Regions from separate parts of the Homo sapiens genome. Here all the other regions are linked to region 4. The links are contacts of gene promoters, found by promoter capture Hi-C in human tissues and cell types (Jung and others, 2019). All regions are on one chromosome and are shown on one strand. The core of a region is centred on a gene start or on the middle of the fragment in contact, and the rest is flanking DNA. Distances in the headings are between cores, read along the strand shown. Region 1 overlaps ZNF136 (zinc finger protein 136). Region 2 has its middle 12 kb from the start of ZNF20. Region 3 overlaps ZNF44 (zinc finger protein 44). Region 4 holds the start of ZNF564 (zinc finger protein 564). Region 5 holds the start of DNASE2 (deoxyribonuclease 2, lysosomal).

What was found. Contacts are between HindIII fragments. The study calls those that stand out against the background at their distance.
Region 1: a fragment that was not itself captured here is called in contact with the fragment with the promoter of ZNF564 in region 4 in 6 of the 25 tissues and cell types used here (H1 embryonic stem cells, dorsolateral prefrontal cortex, heart left ventricle and 3 more).
Region 2: a contact is called between a fragment that was not itself captured here and the fragment with the promoter of ZNF564 in region 4, in 5 of the 25 tissues and cell types used here (aorta, dorsolateral prefrontal cortex, heart right ventricle and 2 more).
Region 3: a fragment that was not itself captured here is called in contact with the fragment with the promoter of ZNF564 in region 4 in 5 of the 25 tissues and cell types used here (adrenal gland, dorsolateral prefrontal cortex, lymphoblastoid cells and 2 more).
Region 5: a contact is called between the fragment with the promoter of DNASE2 here and the fragment with the promoter of ZNF564 in region 4, in 1 of the 25 tissues and cell types used here (adrenal gland).

Annotation. Positions count from the first base shown.
Region 1 is chr19:12,179,187-12,181,932 of GRCh38, reverse strand. All of the region lies in intron 1 of ZNF136 (zinc finger protein 136), which reads right to left. Among named protein-coding and RNA genes, the nearest start is that of ZNF136, 17 kb to the right of the region's middle. The HindIII fragment of the contact is 3,876 bases long and covers 1-2,746 here.
Region 2 is chr19:12,126,989-12,129,688 of GRCh38, reverse strand. No RefSeq gene overlaps it. Among named protein-coding and RNA genes, the nearest start is that of ZNF20, 12 kb to the left of the region's middle. The HindIII fragment of the contact is 9,523 bases long and covers 1-2,700 here.
Region 3 is chr19:12,275,607-12,278,306 of GRCh38, reverse strand. It overlaps ZNF44 (zinc finger protein 44), which reads left to right. Exons shown (of 4, transcript NM_016264.4): 2 at 2,225-2,351. Among named protein-coding and RNA genes, the nearest start is that of ZNF44, 18 kb to the left of the region's middle. The HindIII fragment of the contact is 9,813 bases long and covers 1-2,700 here.
Region 4 is chr19:12,550,151-12,552,850 of GRCh38, reverse strand. ZNF564 (zinc finger protein 564) reads left to right here and starts at 1,369. Exons shown (of 4, transcript NM_144976.4): 1 at 1,369-1,521. The coding sequence starts at 1,519. It overlaps LINC02926 (long intergenic non-protein coding RNA 2926), which reads right to left and starts at 1,125. Exons shown (of 2, transcript NR_187485.1): 1 at 1-1,125. RefSeq lists enhancers at 1-318, 1,102-1,396, 1,462-1,571, 2,230-2,700 and a silencer at 1,802-1,881. The HindIII fragment of the contact is 29,302 bases long and covers 1-2,700 here.
Region 5 is chr19:12,880,195-12,882,894 of GRCh38, reverse strand. It overlaps DNASE2 (deoxyribonuclease 2, lysosomal), which reads left to right and starts at 1,446. Exons shown (of 6, transcript NM_001375.3): 1 at 1,446-1,605; 2 at 1,743-1,923; 3 at 2,015-2,093. The coding sequence starts at 1,520. RefSeq lists cis regulatory regions at 1-324, 1,064-1,624 and enhancers at 1,519-1,628, 1,288-1,915. The HindIII fragment of the contact is 10,490 bases long and covers 1-2,580 here.

The DNA.
Region 1 (2,746 bases), core at 17-2,516, 370 kb after region 4:
CCGGGCGCGGTGGCTCACACCTGTAATCCCAGTACTTTGGGAGGCAGAGACAGGCGGATTGCGAGGTCAGGAGATCGAAACCATCCTGGCTAATATGGTGAAACCCTGTCTCTACTAAAAATACAAAGAAATTAGCCGGGCGTAGTGGTGGGTGCCTGTAGTCCCAGCTACTCGGGAGGCTGAAGCAGGAGAATGGTGTGAACCCGGGAGGCGGAGCTTGCAGTGAGCCAAGATCACACCACTGCCCTCCAGCCTGGGCGACTCAGTGAGGCTCTGTCCCCCCCCAAAAAAAATTAGCTGGGCGTGGTGGCAGGTGCCTGTAATCCCACCTACTCAGGAGGCTGAGGCAGGAAAATCGCTTGAATCCAGGAGGCGGACATTGCAGTGAGTGGAGATTGCGCCACTGCATTCCAGCCTCGGCGACAGAATGAGACTCCACCAAAAAAAAAAAAACAAAAACAAATGCAAAAACAAAACAAAACAAAAAAACCAAATAGTTGATAACACTGTGCATCCGAGAACAGAAGCTGGTGTTGGGGACTGCAGAAATTATACCTACAATTTAGCAGTTTGCTGCCAGATCAAGGAGAGTTAGGCCGGGGGTGGATTTGATACCCTGCTTCCCACACATTTGAGCAACTCAGATGAAACAGAATCGGATGCTGATGGCGAGGAGGCCTGGGCCCCTCCAGCCATGTCGGACCCCAGGCCCCTGCACACTTGCCATTTCCCACACTCGCCATTTCCCATCTTCGGGGTCTCCTGGGTCCTCCCTCCGGCTACCACGGCCAGCACAGAGCACAGAGCCAGGGCAGTGGAGCCAGGAGCCAGAAGAAAGGTAATGCAGCCAGCTCAAGAAAAGAAAATTCACCACAAGATCGTACAGGGTGGGGTGAGGTTGGGGGCAGACAGGGCTCTGAGGCGCGCCTGATTGGACAATAAGTAGGATGCCATCCTGGCACCCCTAACTGGATATAACTTCAGGCTCCGCCCCTGTGGCTTAAGGGGCAGAACACTTAAGATGTTTCAACAGGGATCCAACGTGGTTCTAGCACACACCGTATGCAGTGGTGTGCCTTCCTCCAGGTTCCAGATACCCATGTCCAAAGTCAGCATCACATATTACATGCATTAAAATTTTTAACCAATGCAAAAATGACAATAAGCCATACCTATATCTTTACGGGGAATCATTATTGTTAACCTCAAAAAGGCAGGACTGTCTATATTGCTATGCACTATCTACATCCACACTTAAGCAGTTCCTGAAATGGTGCTGAAGATGTATAAGAGGTGGAAATATAAATGACCGATGGTGACATTTCTTCACTCACTGATGTTGCCACCCTCCACAGAGAACATATACACACACCCTCAGCTTCCGTATTATCTCACACCATCATTTACTTTCCTTCAAAGTGCTTATTTCCTTCTTATAAACCAGTCTTACCATTTTTTCAACCCCTCTCCTTTCTCACAAAAATATAAGCACCAGGATTTCAAGAATTTATTCACTTTGTGTTCCCATATCAGAGCCTTCAGTGCCTGCATCATTTGTGCTTAATTCTGGATGTTCTGAGTCTACAGTTCTGGCATATGAGGCATATTGAAAAATTAGCATCAAGAGCATATTATCTGAGCAAGAGAGGCTTGATTAGAATAGTGATCATGTCTCTGTCCCTTGCTAGGTTTATATTCTGACAACTTTCCTAGAGGCATTAGCCTAATTTGACTAATAAGGGAGACTTTTAAAAATTATCAGTAGTTGGCCGGGGGCGGTGGCTCACGCCTGTAATCCCAGCACTTTGGGAGACCGAGGCAGGCAGATCACGAGGTCAGGAGATCAAGACCATCCTGGCTAACATGGTGAAACCCCGTCTCTACTAAAATTACAAAAAAATTAGCCGGGTGTGGTGGCGGGCACCTGTAGTCCCAGCTACTCGGGAGGCTGAGGCAGGAGAATGGTGTGAACCCGGGAGGTGGAGCTTGCAGTGAGCCGAGACTGCGCCACTGCACTCCAGCCCGGGCAACAGAGCCAGACTCTGTCTCAAAAAAAAAAAATTATCAATAGTTAGAATTTATATATTTCAACTGAGGTATCTTATGGGAAGCCATGTCTAATTCATCATAAGAAATATTTCAGTGTTTAGGTAATAAACTTAGCGCCACTCCATCTTTTTTACTTCTGGGTAAGAACTATCATAATAACCAAGGCCAGAAATAACCTTGCTTCTTCATAGTATACAATCCAGAGAAGCTTCTTGCTTTGAATAGCAATCAATACACCTGAAGCAAGCACACGTCCTAGAAGAAATTCTTTTGGGCTGGGTGTGGTGGCTCACGCCTGTAATCCCAGCACTTTGGGAGGCCGAGGCTGGCAGACCACCTGAGGTCAGGAGATCGAGACCACCCTGGCCAACATGGAGGAACCCCGTCTCTATAAAAAATACAAAAATTAACCAGGCATGGTGACCTGTGCCTGTAATCCCAGCTACTCAGGAGGGTGAGGCAGGAGAATAGCTTGAACCTGGAAGGCAGAGGTTGCAGTAAGCCCAGACTGTGCCACTTGCACTCCAGCCTGGCCGACAGAGTGAGACTCCATCTCAAAAAAAAAAGAAAAAAAAAAAAAGAAATTCTTTTGAGCGCTCTCCTATTGATACACCACACAGTCACGTATGGTTTACTATCATATTTATGATGACTTTTTTTTATACCTTCTTTGACAGGAGCTATGGTCCTGATAATC
Region 2 (2,700 bases), core at 76-2,575, 420 kb after region 4:
GGCCTCGTGATCCGCCCACCTCGGCCTCCCAAAGTGCTGGGATTATAAGTGTGAGCCACCACGCCTGGCCCAAAAATTCTTATTTTGACTATTCATGTCTTATTTTTGCACTTTTTCACAAAGCAAGGTCAAAAAGCAAAGGAAAAATCCTTTAAGATCAATGTACTTAGGTTGAAAATGTGTTTTTTCTCAGGAAAAACTTGTAATTTATATAATTACAATCCTCAGTTTATTTGCAGCATCACCAAATTTTCTTACATATTTCAAATGTGAACTTAAGATATATATTTTTCTCATTATTTACATTTTGCTTCCTACCTATGGCTTTTTTTTTTTTTTTTTTGAGACAGAGTGTCGCTCTGTTGCCTAGGCTGAATTGCAGTGGCACGATCTCAGCTCACTGCAACCTCTGCTTCCCAGGTTCAAGCAAGTCTCGTCACAACCTCCCAAGTAGCTGGCACTACAGGCGAACACCACCATGCCCAGTTAATTTTTGTGTTTTTTGTAGAATTGGAGTTTCACCATGTTGGCCAGACTGGTCTCTAAACTCCTGGCCTCAAGCGATCCATCTGCCTCGGCCTCCCAAAGTGCTGGGATTATAGGCATGAGCCAACATGCCTGGCTCCTCTAGACCTTTTAAATCTTTTACTCATGATATTGGTCAGCCCACGGTCAAAATAATTCATAAAAGGTATATACAAAAATTCAACACCACAATGAAAGTTAAATTCATTTGTTTAGAACCACTCAAGCAACTCAGGTGTACACAGATAGACCTGTGGCAACTGGTGAACAATTAAATGGCACAGAAGTGGCTGGGTGCAGTGGCTCATGCCTGTAATCCCGGCACTTTGGGAGGCCGAGGCGGGCGGATCATGAAGTCAGGAGATTGAGACCATTCTGGCCAACATGGTGAAACCTGTCTCTACTAAAATACAAAAAATTAGCCGGGCGTGGTGGCGGGCTCCTATAGTCCCAGCTACTCAGGAGGCTGAGGCAGAGGAATCCCTTGAACCCGGGAGGCAGAGACTGCAGTGAGCTGAGATCGTGCCACTGCACTTCAGCCTGGCAAAAGAGCAAGACTCTGTCTCAAAATAAATAAATGGCACGGAAGTTGCAATAATGACCTCTGCTGTGCAGTACTCTCTTGGCAGAGATACACAAGAACTCCAATAAGGCCCTCATATGATATGCAGAACTGCCTCAAACATCATGTGACCATAGAACTTTGCCAAGGACAGTCTTTTTGTACATCTCTGCACCTGGCTTACCCAAAGATTGGACTGGGCGCATTTCTCAAGCCATTGTCTACTGAACGTTCTTTGTAGCGTGTGGGGCAATGACGATTGCCTAGGTGTAATTTCCTAATCGCTGGGGTAGGTCTGGTTTCTGAGGGCCCAGCAGAGGAACTCAGTTCACAAAAATGGCTTCCTGTAGTTTCTGCTTGATACTTCCTATTCTGCCATCTTCCCAGAATCCTCTTTCCTGACTTCATATACTAACACGTCATTTCAGATCTCACTACAGATGTCACCACCTCAAGACACTGTCTTCTTTTCCGCCCCCCTTACCCCAACTTGAAACTCAAGGTCACACTCTCTCACCCATTACTCCTATTTCATTTAGTGTGTAGAATTTTTTCAACACACTTGTCAGAATCTGGAACATAACGTTCACAGGGTTGATTGCTCTCTGTTTAACAAGGTAAAAAGTTAAGTCATGTAGGCTGGGTGCGGTGGCTCACGCCTGTTATCCCAGCACTTTGGGAGGCCAAGGTAGACAGATCACGAGGTCAGGAGATCGAGACCATCCTGGCTAACATGGTGAAACCCTGTCTCTACTAAAAATACAAAAAATTAGCCGGGCGTGGTGGCGGGCGCCCGTAGTCCCAGCTACTCAGGAGGCTGAGGCAGGAGAATGGCATGAACCTGGGAGGCAGAGCTTGCATTGAGCCAAGATTGTGCCACTGCACTCCAGCCTGGGTGACAGAGCAAGACGCTGTCTCAAAAAAAAAAAAAAAAAAGTCATGTAAATTTAAGTGTCACCTTTCTTTTCTTTTCTTTTTTTTTTTGAACCTTTTCACCAACTGTTACACACTTTTTTTTTTTTTGAGACAGAGTCTCGCTCTGTCGCCAGGCTTGAGTGCAGTGGTGCGATCTCAGCTCACTGCAACCTTCACCTGCTGGGTTCAAGCAATTCTCCTGCCTCAGCCTCCCGAGTAGCTGGGATTACAGGCACGCACTACCACACCTGGTTAATTTTTGTATTTGTATTTGTATTACAGATGTGAGCCACCGCGCCTGGCTTACACCCTATATTAAAAAGTATTTCAGGGGCCAGGCACGGCGGCTTATGCCTATAATCCCAGCACTTTGGGAGGCCAAGGCGGGCGGATCACTTGAGGTCAGGAGTTCTAGACCAGCCTGGCCAACATAGTGAAACCCTGTCTCTACTAAAAGTACAAAAATTAGCCGGCTGGGGTGGTGGCCACCTGTAATCCCAGCTACTCGGGAGGCTGAAGCAGGAGAATCACTTGAACCTGGGAGGCAGAGGTTGCAGTGAGCTGAGACTGCAACACTGCACTCCAGCCTGGGCAACAGAGCAAGACCTTGTCTCTAAAATAACATAACATAACATAACATAACATAACATAACATAACATAACATAACATAACAACATAACATAACATAAATACAGTA
Region 3 (2,700 bases), core at 97-2,596, 270 kb after region 4:
ATAGATTATAGACTAACTAAAAGCCTTCCTTACGGGAAACAAAGGGAAGGGCTCTGGCTAGTTATCTGCAGCAGGAACTTGTCCTTAAGGCACAGATGGCCCATGCTATTGTTTGTGGTTCAGGAACGCCTTAAGCAGTTTTCCACCCTGGGTGGGCCAGGTGTTCCTTGCCCTCATTCCGGTAAACCAACAACCTTCAGCATGTGCGTCATAGCCATCACGAGCATGTCACAGTGCTGCAGAGATTTTGTTTATGGCTAGATTTGGGGGCCTGTTCCCAACACCTTGGCCTCCCAAAGTACTGGGATTACAGGTGTGAGCCACCACACCTGGCCTTCTAATGTATGTCTTAGTCATCTTGTGTTGTCCTAGGTGGTTGCACACTTTTTGTGTATTTTACAACATTTTAAAGTAGTTCCTGCCCAGTTTGACTCTGATTGGATTCTGTTGTAGATGAAATAGAAAAGAGAGCCTTGTTTCAGACCTTCGGTTAGTCCCCAGACTGATTCAAAAATACAAAGGCAATAATGTGGAAACAAAATGTGATCTGTACACTCTGTGGTGATCAGAGTTCTACACTGGGAACTCTGCTGTCTTCAGGACTGGCAATGAGATGGGCAGAGATGGGGCCAAAGAAAAAACAATACAAGGCTTTTCTATCATTTTTCACTTTCCTGTTTATGTATCTTTTTCTCTCTGTTAATAGTATGGGATGTGAAAAATTACAGTTTTAAATCTTCTGTTTGTTTTTGTAAAGCTGTCTACTTTCTTGATGAGAAGGTTTTTTTTAAGCATCTTTAGACATTTATGACTTCTATAAAAATTGGTTTATGTAATGTTATTGATTATTAAATGTCTGCTGTTGAGATTTATGGAATATAATTGATATTCATGAAAGCTGACACTGAATTCTGTCTAAGAACATTTGCAGTCTGTCCTCTTCTTTTCTTTCTCCTTCGACATTACCCAGTAGAAAGTTACAATTTTTTCTATTTAGTTGGTAAAATCTCTTTTATTAGTCTTTTGTCATACTTAACTACATTTGATCTACAGGGAACCAGTCACCAGCTTCCAAATATTCTCTCTGTGTAATCACGTAGGATAGGCTAAATCCCCCAAGTAAGACATTGAAAAAACAACAACAACAAAAATATGAAATATCATCTACCAGAGTTGCACATTAGGGACCCTGTGCCTAGAGTGTTTCTTTGTGTATGTCTTAGTCTATAAGACTGTTTTTTTGTTACTTACAACAGGATACCAGAACTGGGGTAATCTATAAGAAATGATATTTATTTTTTGCAGTTCTGAAAGCTGGGAAGATCAAGTAAGGTCAAAGTGGGCATCTGGTGGGAATCTTCTTGCTGATGGGGACTCTGTAGAGTCCCTGGGTGGTACAGGGCATTACATGATGAGGGGGCTGAGTGTCTAGCTGAAGTATCTTCCTCTTCTCATAAGGACACCAGAACCTCATCTGTGATAACCAGTTTATTTATTAAGCCATTCATACATGAGTGGATTAATCCATCCATGTGTTCCAAACCCTCAAGACCCACTCACCTCTTAAACCACTACCTTTGATTACTTCCACATTGGAGATTCAGTTTCAGCCTGCATTTTGGAGGGGAAGACATTCAAACCTAGCAGTGGCTGATTGGGTACACTTCCTCTGCTGAGGATGTAATACAATTCCAAACTCTCAGAGGGAAGTTAGGAGTTAAGCAAATACCATAATTTTTACACAAATAGTTTAGGCACACTCCACCCCCTTTATTAGTTATGCTTACGGGGCCCTCCCCTAAATACATTGTCTAGACACCACGAAAGGTTCAACATTGTGAACAAGCAGTTGTAAGGATATGCCGTCTCAGGACTGCTAATTGTAACTCTCTTTTGCACAGTAGGTGGTAGGACTTTGTCATGACAAGGACTACAGACCCACTGTAGAAACAGACATTAGGAGTAATCCAGGCAATAAGATTCACTTGCATAATTCACCAATAAGAGATATGTTCCTACTCAACTGTTATTTTAGCAAGCCCAATTCCAGCATCAGAATTCCAGCATCAGACAGTGAGTGCAGACACAGAATAAGAGTGGATTTACCACGTCATTGAATAAATGCTTGGAAACCACAGCATCATGGGAAGTTTATGAAGGTGAGTATAGGTTCTCAGTACTGTGAGTTTCAACCTTCCTTTTCTGGACATATGGGATGTTTCAGGACTCAGTGGCCTTTGAGGATGTGGCTGTGAACTTCACCCATGAGGAGTGGGCTTTGCTGGGTCCATCACAGAAGAATCTCTACAGAGATGTGATGCGAGAAACCATTAGGAACCTGAACTGTATAGGTATGGATGACATCATGTCTTCATTTGGTCAATTAGAGACATTTGTTTTGTGGTCATCAATGCTGTTCAGTGATTTGAAATATGGAAAAGGGATACAGTTCATTCCTGAACAACACAGGGTGAAGTGCCAGGCCCCAACCTGTTGTATGTCCTCATATAATCTTTTGTCTGCCACAGCTTAACCTACTTTTGACCAGCAGCCTTATCAGTCATATAAACAAGTGACGAGCACATATATGTCATATGTATTGCATACTGTATTCTCAGAATAAAGTAAGTTAGAGAAAGTAAATTTTTTTTCTTTTTTTTTGAGATGGAGTCTTGCTCTGTCGCCCAGGCTGGAGTGCAG
Region 4 (2,700 bases), core at 120-2,619:
TTCCTGGACAGTGTTTTGGTTTTAGCATTCATGGGGTCGCTGAGTCAGGCTGTAATTTGTATACATGAAGAAAATCTGTGAGGGTCAGACTCAGTGAAAAACTTGTTTGCATTGTCCCCTGGAGAAAAGGTTTGGGAACATGACAATTTATTTAGGTCACGACTTTACATTGACTCCGGGTGAGAGTTTCCTGCTGGTACAAATGAAGGTTTTGAAGGAAAGAGTGTTTCCACACTGTGAGGAGAGGACTGGAGGGCACCTTGAGCTCCCAAAGTTGAATTCTTAAGTGTCCCTGTCTCATCACCAGGTTCTGATCCACACTGGGGTTCCATTTCAGCAGTTAGAGTCTGGGTCCCAAGCTTGGGATTATTTTATTTTATATTTCATTTCTTCATTTCATTATTTCATTTCATTTCATATTTCATTTTTTAGTCTCGCTCTGTCGCCCAGGCTGGAGTGCAATGGCGCTATCTCGGCTCACTGCAACTTCCCCCTCCCAGGTTCAAGCGATTCTCGTACCTCAGCTTCCCGAGTTGCTGGGATTACAGGCACCTGCCACCACGCCTGGCTAATTTTTGTATTTTTAGTAGAGATGGGGTTTCACCATGTTGGTTAGGCTGGTCTTGAACTCCTGACCTTAAGCAATTTTCTCACCTTGGCCTTCCAAAGTTCTGGGATTACAGGCGTGAGCCACCGCGCCCGGCGCTTGGGAATATTTTTAACGTTATGATTGTGGGTTTTCCTTGTGAACTGCGGGTGAAGCAGGCTGCTTGTCTGAGCTAGTTCAAATGTTTGCTTACTTCTCTTGGTTTCTTTATAGATGATCGCTGTCATAAAAACTCCAGTTTTTCCTATACATTTAATACTTTTATTTCTTTGTCCGTTTTAATTTTCTTGCCTGAAAGAAGCAAGCCCTCCTCCCTCCTGTTACACTGTGGTCTGGCCTGGCCTGGGCGCGCCTCCTACTCCGAGGCCAGGGGATGGCTCCACTGGACGCCGAGTCTGTCATTCCCTGTGCACACTTGTGACTCTGTGTCCGGGAGGAAAAGGCAGGAAGGGCACCCTGAGTGCAGAAACACGCCAGTGTCACCTCTGCAGAGCCTGAAACACTTTCTGCTTAAATGCAAATATCCTCCCCGGCACAGAAGGTTACAGAAGGAGGAAGCCCGGCCCGCGAAGGGCAGTGGCCAAGACCCTGTCAATCTGTCTTTACTCAGCCACATACCGCATTGCTTCTCCTGTCACTCAGTACCAAGGGGGCAGGACTTGAATCATCACCCAATCAGGGGCACTGGGGCGGGAACCTGCAAACCATCCAATCAGGAACTCTGCAAGGGGGACAGGGGCAATGTTCAACAACTCCGCGGGGTCTTCCTGTTTCGTGTCCGCTGCGTTTGGGTTCCGGTCTCCGCTTCTCCAGTGGCCCCGGTGGCTCCACCGCAGCGTCTGGCGCGCTGGGACCTGCACAGGCCGGAGAGAGCCGTAGGCAGGACCCCGGGACACCCTGGAAGCCAGGAAATGGTGCGTGTGCGGGGCCGGGCGCCTGGAGACTGGGGGAGGGGCTTGTGGGAACCGGCCGGAACCGGCTGTGGAAGCACCCTGGCCTCCCTGCAGCGACTCCAGGGTCTGGGACCCGAGTTCCCTGGCGCAGCTCGGCCCTCTGTCCCCTCGGCCGCAGGGTGGGTTGGGCCGTAGCCAGTACCCCAGGCGTCCTGTCCCGTCCCTGCGCGGCGACTGCGGCCTCGGCCTCGGAGCCCTGTCTGGGCAGCTCCGCGCCCGCAGCCCCGCCTCTCTCCAGATTGTTTGTACTGGGACACGGGAGGGTCATAAGGCGGAATCCCGTCTCGGGTGTGCGGTTCGTGCATGGGAAGAGCTGTGGGCTGTGGCCTTCCCAGTACATCGTCTTTTTTTCCGGGGGACTGGTCTTCCTCCGAGTCTTCCAAACGTACTGGAAAAAGAATCTCAAACCTACGACTCCCGTTTTTTTTAGCCTAGCTTTTTCTGGGGCTGGAAATAAATGCCTAAATTTCCGGTTCCTTCCCCGCATTCCCAAAGGTGACCTCCCCTCGCCAAATCAACATTATCAGCTGTTTTTTGTTTGACATTTAAGACACAGTATTTTAGTTGTTTATAGTTTCTTTCACCATACTCTTTTGAAAGGATTTGTTTTCTGTTTGTTGTTTTTTTTTTCTTTTCAGACAGAGTTTCGCTCTGTCGCCCAGGCTGGAGTGCAGTGGGAAGATCTCAGCTCACTGCAACCTTCGCCTTCCGGGTTCAAGCAATTCTCCTGCCTCAGCCTCCTGAGTAACTGGGATTACAGGCATGCGCCGCCACGACCGGCTACTTTTTGTATTTTTGGTAGAAACTGGGTTTCTCCATGTTGGCCAGGTTGGTCTCAAACTCCAGACCTCAGGTGATCCGCTCACCTCCGCCTCCCAAAATGCTGGTATTACAGACGTGAGCCACCGCGCCCGGCCTCTTGTTTGTGTACTTGTAACCTGAGAGGGAAACGGAGAATAAGAACCTGACACTCTACGGTAAAATTTTTTTTTTTTTTTGAGACAGAGTTTCGCTCTTATTGCCCAGGCTGGAGTGCAATGGCGCGATCTCAGCTCACTGCAACCTCCACCTCCTGGGTTCAAGCGATTCTCCTGCCTCAGCCTCCCGTGTAACTGGGATTACAGGCATGCGCCACCATGC
Region 5 (2,700 bases), core at 197-2,696, 330 kb before region 4:
GTTTGGAGATTAAAGGCAAGATGGAGTTGGTTAGGTCAGAGCTCTTTCACTGACATAATTTTCTGTCATAATTTTTGCAAAGGCAGTTTCAAGCCAGTACTCAGATTCCCATAGCCCTTTGCCCTGCCATGATCCTTTGAGGCTGAGGTGGGAGAATCACTTGAACCCCGGAGTTCCAGAGCAGCCTGGGCAACATAGTGAGACCCTCATCTCTGCAATGAACAATTATCTGGGTGTGGTGGCACAGGCCTGTAGTACCAGCTACCTGGGAAGATCTCTTGAGCCCAGTAGGTTGAGGCTGCAGTGAACTGTGATGGAGTCACTGCATTCTAGCCTGGGTGAGAAACCATTATCCTGTCTCAAAACGACAAAAAACAAACATACAGTCACCTCTTTGCTAGCTCAGGGGATCCTGGAGAAAACGTGCAGAATGAAAAAGGAGAGTCTGGGTGGCGTGGATTACATGCCTGTAATCCCAGCACTTTGGGAGGCAAGACAGGTGGATCCCTTGAGCTCAGGAGTTCAGCCTGAGCCACATGGTGAAACCGTGTTTCAAAAAAAAAACTACAAAAATTAGCTGGGCATAGTGGCATGTGCCCGTGATCCCAGCTACTCGGGAGGCTGAGGTGAGAGGATCACTTGAGCTGGGGAGGCAGAGGTTGCAGTGAGCCAAGATTGCGCCACTGCACTCCGGCCTGGGCAACAGAGCGAGATATTGTCCGGGAAAAAAAAAAAAAAAAAAGGAAGGAAAAAAAAAAAGAAAGAAAAAGGGGAAGATACACTGGAACACAAATGCTTCTTAAGGGGCGCAGTGGCTCACTTCTGCAATCTTGGCACTTTCGGGGGCCGAGGCTGGTGGATCACGAGGTCAGGAGTTCGAGACCAGCCTAGTCAACATGGAAAAACCCCGTCTCTACTAAAACTACAAAAATTAGCCGGGCGTGGTGTCGGGCGCCTGTAATCCCAGCTACTCGGGAGGCTGAGGCAGGATAATCGCTTTAATCAGGAAGGCGGAGGTTGCAGTGAACCGAGATCGTGCCATTGCACTCCAGCCTGGGCGACAAGAGTGAAACTCCGTCTCAAAAAAAAAAAAAAAAAAAAAAAAAAAAAAAGAGGAAGAACAAAGGTCCCAAGAGTTGGACCCAGGTTGTAGGGCTGGAATAAAAAATAAAATACAAACTTGTGCCTGATCCAGAAACCCGGGCGGGAGTTGGGTCAGACAGAAGAGCGTGGGCTGGGATTAGCTACCACGAAAAGGAACGGTGGCCAGGCTCCAGGAGACGCTGGAGCGCCGGGCCCGTCGTGGGCGTGGTCTGGGCAGACTCAGCGTTGCCTTTTGCCTCTCCAAAACGCAGCATCGCGTCTCGGGGGAGGAGTCTGTACCCTCGTGATGTCCCCGCCCCGGTTCCCAGGCAAGTTTAGGGAAGTGAAAGGCGCCAGGTGCCAGTCCTGGCCTCTGATGTAACCCAGCGCCCCGCAGTCCCGACACAGATTCCTGGATCTCAGCCCCATAGCAGCTATGATCCCGCTGCTGCTGGCAGCGCTGCTGTGCGTCCCCGCCGGGGCCCTGACCTGCTACGGGGACTCCGGGCAGCCTGTAGACTGGTGAGTGCGCAGCGGGGGGCCTACCATCGCCCCGGGGTCCGGCTGCGGTCACTCAACCGGGATGGCTACCTCCTCGGGGAACCCTGGGGTGCCTTCTCTTCCCTCTCTCCTATTTCTGTGCATTCTCCGACCTCCAGGTTCGTGGTCTACAAGCTGCCAGCTCTTAGAGGGTCCGGGGAGGCGGCGCAGAGAGGGCTGCAGTACAAGTATCTGGACGAGAGCTCCGGAGGCTGGCGGGACGGCAGGGCACTCATCAACAGCCCGGAGGGGGCCGTGGGCCGAAGCCTGCAGCCGCTGTACCGGAGCAACACCAGCCAGGTGAAGGGGGCCCCGGGCCAACTAGGGGCGAAACTCTAGGGCTGCCCTGCCTGGGAGGAATTTCACGTTGCCTCCGTTTATCCGCCCGCAGCTCGCCTTCCTGCTCTACAATGACCAACCGCCTCAACCCAGCAAGGCTCAGGACTCTTCCATGCGTGGGCACACGAAGGGTGAGGCCTGGATTGGGGGCTGGGGAGAGACTCGGGTCCCATTTTTCCAAGGTAACCCCTGACGTGCATGGGGTGGTCGGGGAGATCTGCACTGTCAGACCCTGGGCATCTATTCCCCCCAACTTTTTTTTTTCTTTGTTTTTGAGACGGTGGGAGTTCGCTCTGTCACCCAAGCTGGAGTGCAGTGGCACAATCTTGGCTCACTGCAATCTCTGCCTCTGGGGTTGAAGCAATTCTCCTGTCTCAGCCTCCCAAGTAGCTGGTATTAAAGGCGCACCATCACACCAGGCTAATTTTCATATTTTTAGTACAGACGAGGTTTCACCATGTTGGCCAGGCTGGTCTCGAACTCCTGGTTTCTACCTCAAGTGATCTACCCGCCTTGGCCTCCCAAAGTGCTGGGATTACAGGAATGAGCCACCCTGCCCAGCCGAGTTCCTATGCATTTTTCCAAGCTAACCCCTGACCTCCATAGTGGGGTGGGAGATCTCCCCTGTCAGACCTTGGGCATCTATTTCCCCTATTTTATTTTCTTTTAGACAAGGTCTCACCCAGTCACCTAGGCTGGAGTGCAGTATCACAGCTCACTGCAGCCTTGACCTCCCAG